Regions from separate parts of the Homo sapiens genome. Here region 1 is linked to region 2. Evidence: promoter capture Hi-C in human tissues and cell types (Jung and others, 2019). All regions are on one chromosome and are shown on one strand. Each heading gives the region's core, a stretch centred on a gene start or on the middle of the fragment in contact. The rest is flanking DNA. Distances are from core to core; before and after follow the strand shown. Region 1 has its middle 14 kb from the start of SELENON. Region 2 holds the start of RHD (Rh blood group D antigen).

What was found. The method cuts DNA at HindIII sites, captures the fragments that hold promoters and counts their contacts. A contact is called where the count stands out against the background at its distance.
Region 1: a contact is called between a fragment that was not itself captured here and the fragment with the promoter of RHD in region 2, in 1 of the 25 tissues and cell types used here (dorsolateral prefrontal cortex).

Annotation. Positions count from the first base shown.
Region 1 is chr1:25,785,082-25,788,126 of GRCh38, forward strand. No RefSeq gene overlaps it. Among named protein-coding and RNA genes, the nearest start is that of SELENON, 14 kb to the right of the region's middle. The HindIII fragment of the contact is 5,414 bases long and covers 1-3,045 here.
Region 2 is chr1:25,271,122-25,273,987 of GRCh38, forward strand. RHD (Rh blood group D antigen) reads left to right here and starts at 1,388. Exons shown (of 10, transcript NM_016124.6): 1 at 1,388-1,574. The coding sequence starts at 1,427. The region is part of intron 1 of LOC105376882 (a long non-coding RNA gene); the gene reads right to left. It also overlaps a transcript of RSRP1 not described here. The HindIII fragment of the contact is 5,221 bases long and covers 1-2,049 here.

The DNA of each region.
Region 1 (3,045 bases), core at 326-2,825, 510 kb after region 2:
AGAATGAACTTCCCATAACCCAGCCCCCTTTCCCACCCTCCCTGATGCCCTCCCTGGGAGGGGGCCTGAAACACTGGGGCTGTTGTGCAGAGCAAGGAGCTCAGGTCCTAACACTGAAGTGACAGCTCTTCCTCCCCTGACCCTTTTTTTTTTTTGAGACCCAGAGTCTCGTTCAGTCGCCCAGGCTGGAGTGCAGTGGTGCAATCTTGGCTCACTGCAACCTCCACCTCCTGGGTTCAAGCAGTTCTCCTGCCTCAGCTTCCCCAGTAGCAGGGTGCGTCACCACACCCGGCTAATTTTTTGTATTTTTAGTAAAGACGAGGTTTTGCCATGTTGCCTAGGCTGGTCTTGAACTCCTGAGCTCAGGTGATCCGCCCACCTCAGCCTCCCAAAGTGCGGGGATTACAGGCATGAGCCACCACACCCAGTCCTTTCCTGGCACATTTGCAGCTTGTCAACACAGCGGAAATCACGGGAGAATGTTGAGCCCTTCCCTGGGCTCAGCTGCTTGCTCTGTTCATAAGCTTTAATAGCCCCCGGGGCTCTGGGCCAGGTGACCCGGCTTTAAATCCCTGCTGTGTGAACTTAGGCAGGTACCTCCCCTCTCTGGGCTCTTCTTTTCCATCAAGCAGACAGAAAACCTCAACCCCACAAGGTTGCTGTGAGAAGAAGTGGGAAGCTGCTGGTTCCCTGGGCACAGGAAGTGCTTGTTCCTTGTTCTGGAGACTCAAGACATTCCCAGAATCTTCTTAAGCAGAGCTGCTGGGGAGTAGCCCCTGTAGCAAGTACCATGCTCTTGACAGGCAGCATGAGAGCGTGACTCCCATGACCCACCTGTGCTCAAAAAAAAAAAAAAAAAAAAGCAAACCAGGAAAACTGACTACACAAACATTGTAGAAAGATTAGAAAATAGAAGCAGAAAGAAGACTCATTGGCCATCCCACTCTCTGGGGTGAATACTGTTATATTTTCTTCTAGGCCTTTTTCTATGAATATATAGAATATAGATTTTGCCACCGTGGTATCCTACTATGCACACTGTTTTCTTATAATCTGCTTTTGCACTTAACTGTACATTGTGAACCTCTTTCCATGTCAACAAATACATGTTTATCTCATCGCTGTACGTGCTTGTGGAGTATTCCATTGTGTGCTGTAGCCTACTTTGCTGATCTAAGCCCCTGTTGCCAGGCATTTGGGTTTGTGTCCATCTGGGATTTTAGTTACAAATCACAGAAACCAACTCTGTCAACTTAAGCACAGAAAGGGATTTACTGAAATGCCATGGGGTGGCTTATGGAATCTCAGGAAGGAGTAAACAGCCAAACCTCAATAAGGGCTAGAAAGAGGACTTGGCCAGGGACCCCTTCAAGAACCAGGGAAGCCTCTCTAGGCACCACCATCAGGAGGGCTGAATCCAAATGTTTCCAGATCCTGCTGTGGCTCCTTTCCATGTGGCCTGGCCTGGGTCACATGCCCGCCCCAGCCAAGGGCAGAGCCAGGCATCTTGGCTTGGCAGACCCCCTAAGATTACCCTGTGCAATGGGTGTTGGGCTGTTCCCTAGAGAAAAACATGAGATTCATCACCAAAATAAGGGATCTGCAGGCTGCACAGGCAAAAACAGCAGGACTGTTTACAGTTAGCTTTGATTTCTTCAGTATTATACAGAGAGTTATGAAGAGCATACTTAACCATCCTCCTTTTCACTTTTGTCCAATTATGTCCTCAGAATAACTTCTAGAATGTCTCTCTGTCTCAAAGCCACTTTGCAGTTCCCCAAGCCCCAGGCTCCCCCGCCAGGCCCGTGCGGCTGTCTACCTCTCCTCTCCTGTCCTCTGCTGTATTGCTGGGAGGAAATTGTAAAAATGAATATTTTAAAATGTATCCTCCAGGAGGGCCCTTGCAGGTGGAGAAATATCATCCTTTTGGCAACTTAACTCCATTCCACGGATAAAAATAAGTACGACTCAAGACAGGCCGAGAGGAGAGAGGAATTAAGGGATGACTCATCCTCACTGAAGGTAGGAGAGAGCTTTGCAAGCCACAGAATCTGAACACCCAAACCTCTCACTGAAGGTAGGAGAGAGCTTTGCAAGCCACAGAATCTGAACACCCAAACCTCTCCCTGAAGCAGCCCTCTCCTTCCCCAGCTGGGGGTCAGCCTGTGGCTGCCAAGCTCATTTTAAGCCTCATCTGCGCCCTCGCTGAGGATGGAAGCACCATTTGCACCTGCTTCCCTCATAGAAGGGTGTGATGTCAGCTCCTTCCCAGAAAGCTTCATCAACACCCAGCTCCTGGCACTGAGGTCTGCAGAGCCTCAAGGCCCCGGGAAGGGGGACGAGCAGGGCACAGTCCTTTTCTAGGTGCCTCCCTTTAAATGACTGGCTATTTGGTCAGACCAGCCAAATGCATTGGGAAGAAAAGCAAAAATGGAAAATCTGATTTAAAGGCAGCATCCAAGATGGATGCTCAGTTCCGTTCCCTCTGCTTTGAGGAGGTGACCCCACTGTGGTTTGAGAAAGTGCTAGAGATGAATGGGCCAGCTTCCCCCAGCGTTTCCCCTGGGGGCCTGTCCTTGGAAGTATGGTCATTGGTCATGTGGCACAAAGATGCTCGGCCCTCTGTGACTAATGCTTAATTACACCCTACTGGAGGAAGGGGGCTGATTCTATTTTTTGTATCTGAAAATATCAGTTTGGTTTCCTATATTTGGAGCACTGTTTTGTTCCTGCTCAGCCTGTCTCTTAAGTCAGAGCTTCTCAAACGTGCACAGGAATCACCTGGGAGCTTGTTAAAATCCAGGTTCATGTTCAGCGGCTCTGGCATGGAGCCTGAGATTCTGCCTTTTTTTTTTTTTTTCCTGACACAGGGTCTTATTCTGTCACCCAGGCTGGAGTTCAGTGGGGCCATCATAGCTCACTGCAACCTCCATCTGCAGGGCTCAAGCAGTCCTTCCACCTAGCCTCCTGAATAGCTGAAACTACAGGTGTGCCGCCACATCCAGCTAATTTTTTTTTTGTCGCTACATTTCTCAGGTTGGTCTC
Region 2 (2,866 bases), core at 138-2,637:
ACCCCCTGCTAGTGGACATTTAGGTTAGTCTCAGTTTTTTCCTTCTGTAAATAAAGCTGCACTGAGCAAGAAGTGACTGATGCCAAGTGACTAGATGACCTTAGGTATGACCTCTCTGGGTCTTGGTTTCTTGGTCTAAAAACAAAATGACAGGATTCGACTGGGTGATTAAAATCTCCTCTGATCTACATAGGAATTGTTTTCAAGACATTTCTGCATTCCTCTAGTGACAGGGTGCTCACTACCTCATGAGTATTTCAGTGGACAACTGTAATGGTCAATAAAGTATCCACTTTCCACCTCCCTGCAGCTCCTGGCCCTGGCTTTATTCTCTGGGGCTCCACACATTCAGTTTACACTCAGTGGCCAGTGGCTGGGACCATTGTAGAAAATAAGGAAACTCCAATTCCTTCCTTCTTTTCTTCCTCTTTCATCTCTTCCTCCCTCTCTACATCCCTCTCTCTCTTCCTTCCTTCCTCGACACTTACCATGTACCAGACCTTCTGCCAGGCACATGGATGGGAGCACAGGGGAAGTTGGCTGCAGGGTTAGAACTAAGTCCCAAGCCCCCTAAAGCTCATGCCAGGGGACTGGACTGTCCAGTACTGAGGGATGGGGATGCTGAGGCTGGTGGCCTTCCTCAAATGCACTGTAGTGCCCCAGGCAGAGTCCTGGGCTGCCCTGTGAGGAGGTGACCAGAGGTAGAGCAACTTCACCCTAAGGCTGGATCAGGATCCCCTCCAGGTTTTTACTAGAGCCAAACCCACATCTCCTTTCTCTTCTGCCACCCCCCCTTAAAATGCTTAGAAACACATAGATTTAAATACAAATTCAAATGTAAGTAATTTCAACTGTGTAACTATGAGGAGTCAGTTCTACGTGGGTCCTATCTGTATCCTCCCCAGGGCTCAGCTCCATTCTTTGCTTTCATTCATTCTCATTCAATACATTGTTGTTAAGAGCTCACTGGGTGCCCTCTCTGTCATGTAGTAAGGTTTTAAAAAGAAAGCCTCTTCTGAGCTTCAGTTTCCTTATTCATAAAATAGGAGTATTGATCCATTCCTTGCTTTTCTTACAAGGATATGCTGAAGATGACTGAAGTACAGAGTAAAGAAGGATTATGTTTGGGTGTCAAAGGAATAGAATGCCCTCTTTCAAACTGAGCACAGCAGGAACCTGTAACAGGAACACAGCAACTTGTTGAATGAATGACAATATTGGAAAACATACATTTCCTCCCCTCCCCATCATAGTCCCTCTGCTTCCGTGTTAACTCCATAGAGAGGCCAGCACAACCAGCCTTGCAGCCTGAGATAAGGCCTTTGGCGGGTGTCTCCCCTATCGCTCCCTCAAGCCCTCAAGTAGGTGTTGGAGAGAGGGGTGATGCCTGGTGCTGGTGGAACCCCTGCACAGAGACGGACACAGGATGAGCTCTAAGTACCCGCGGTCTGTCCGGCGCTGCCTGCCCCTCTGGGCCCTAACACTGGAAGCAGCTCTCATTCTCCTCTTCTATTTTTTTACCCACTATGACGCTTCCTTAGAGGATCAAAAGGGGCTCGTGGCATCCTATCAAGGTGAGAGTTCATTGGAAAAGTGGTCACAGGAGCAAATAGCAGGGGCAGGGGCGGGGGAGGCCTGTGGTTCTCCAGGGGCACAGATGTTCCTTTCTACAAAATCCCAAGGAAAAAGATTCCCCCATCTTCTTCCGTAGATTGCACCGAAATTCAGCCAACAATGTAAGCTTTCCTTTAGAAGCAGCCTGGGCATGCCCTCTTCTGTGAAGCCTGCCTTGATTTTTCAGCACAGTGAGAGGCATCCTCTTTGGTGTTCCTCAAATTCCCTCTACCAAATGGTCTTCATAATTCTCTGCTTCTCTGCTTCCCCTTCTCTCTCCTCAGTGGCAAGGAATTTTTTTATTTTTATAGATTTAGGGGATACAAGTGCAGCTATCTTATGCAAGCAATTTCATGTTGTTGGGTTTTTGGTTTTTGTTTCCTTTTTGTGGCCTCTCGCTCATTTCTTATTTCTTTTTGAGGCAGGGTCTCACTCTGTTGCCCAGGCTGAAGTGCAGTGGCATGATCATGGTTCACTGCAGCCTTGACCTCCTAGTCTCAAGCAATCTTCCCACCTCAGCCTCCCAAGAAGCTGGGACCACAGGAGGGCACCACCATGCCTGGCTAATTTTTTTTTTTTTTTTTTTTGGTAGAGATGTGGGTCTCCCTGTGTTTCCCAGACTGGTCTCAAACTCCTGGACACAAGCGATCCTCCAGCCTCAGTCTCCCAAAGTGCTGGAATTACAGGCGTGAAGCACTGTGCCCAGCTCTCTTGCTCATATCTATACTAGTTTTCTTTTGGAAGCTTCAGCCTGTTGCTACCCCCCACCCCCACCCCCACCGACCCCAGCTTTCTTCTCACTTAGGGGCTGGGAAGTCTGCATGCTGTCTATAAATCCAGAACCAGAAGGTATGGCTGAAGGGGAGGGTAGGATGATGGTTATTTTATATTCAGCTAAAAATATTCCCAGACTGTGATGAGACAACTGTAAATAAGACAGATGTCCACAATGGTGTGACTTTGCTTTTTTAAAAATATTGAAATGAGTTTCAGGCATCTCAGTGGGCTGATAGGTTGTTGATAATAGACAGGGCCTCCTTGAAGAATGTCCCTGAGACAAAGTTGAAGCTTGAGCCTGGTTGAGTCCTTGCTTGTTCCTAGGTTGATATGAACGGCTAGTTAACTGGAAGCAAAGAGAAGTCATCCTGGGGGCCATGGCAGTGACAAGTAGGACTTAGGGAGGGAAGCCCTTATACCATTTAAGGTGCTGGCCCAGAGAGGAGCCTTCAGTGACAGACAAACAAGAGCTGGC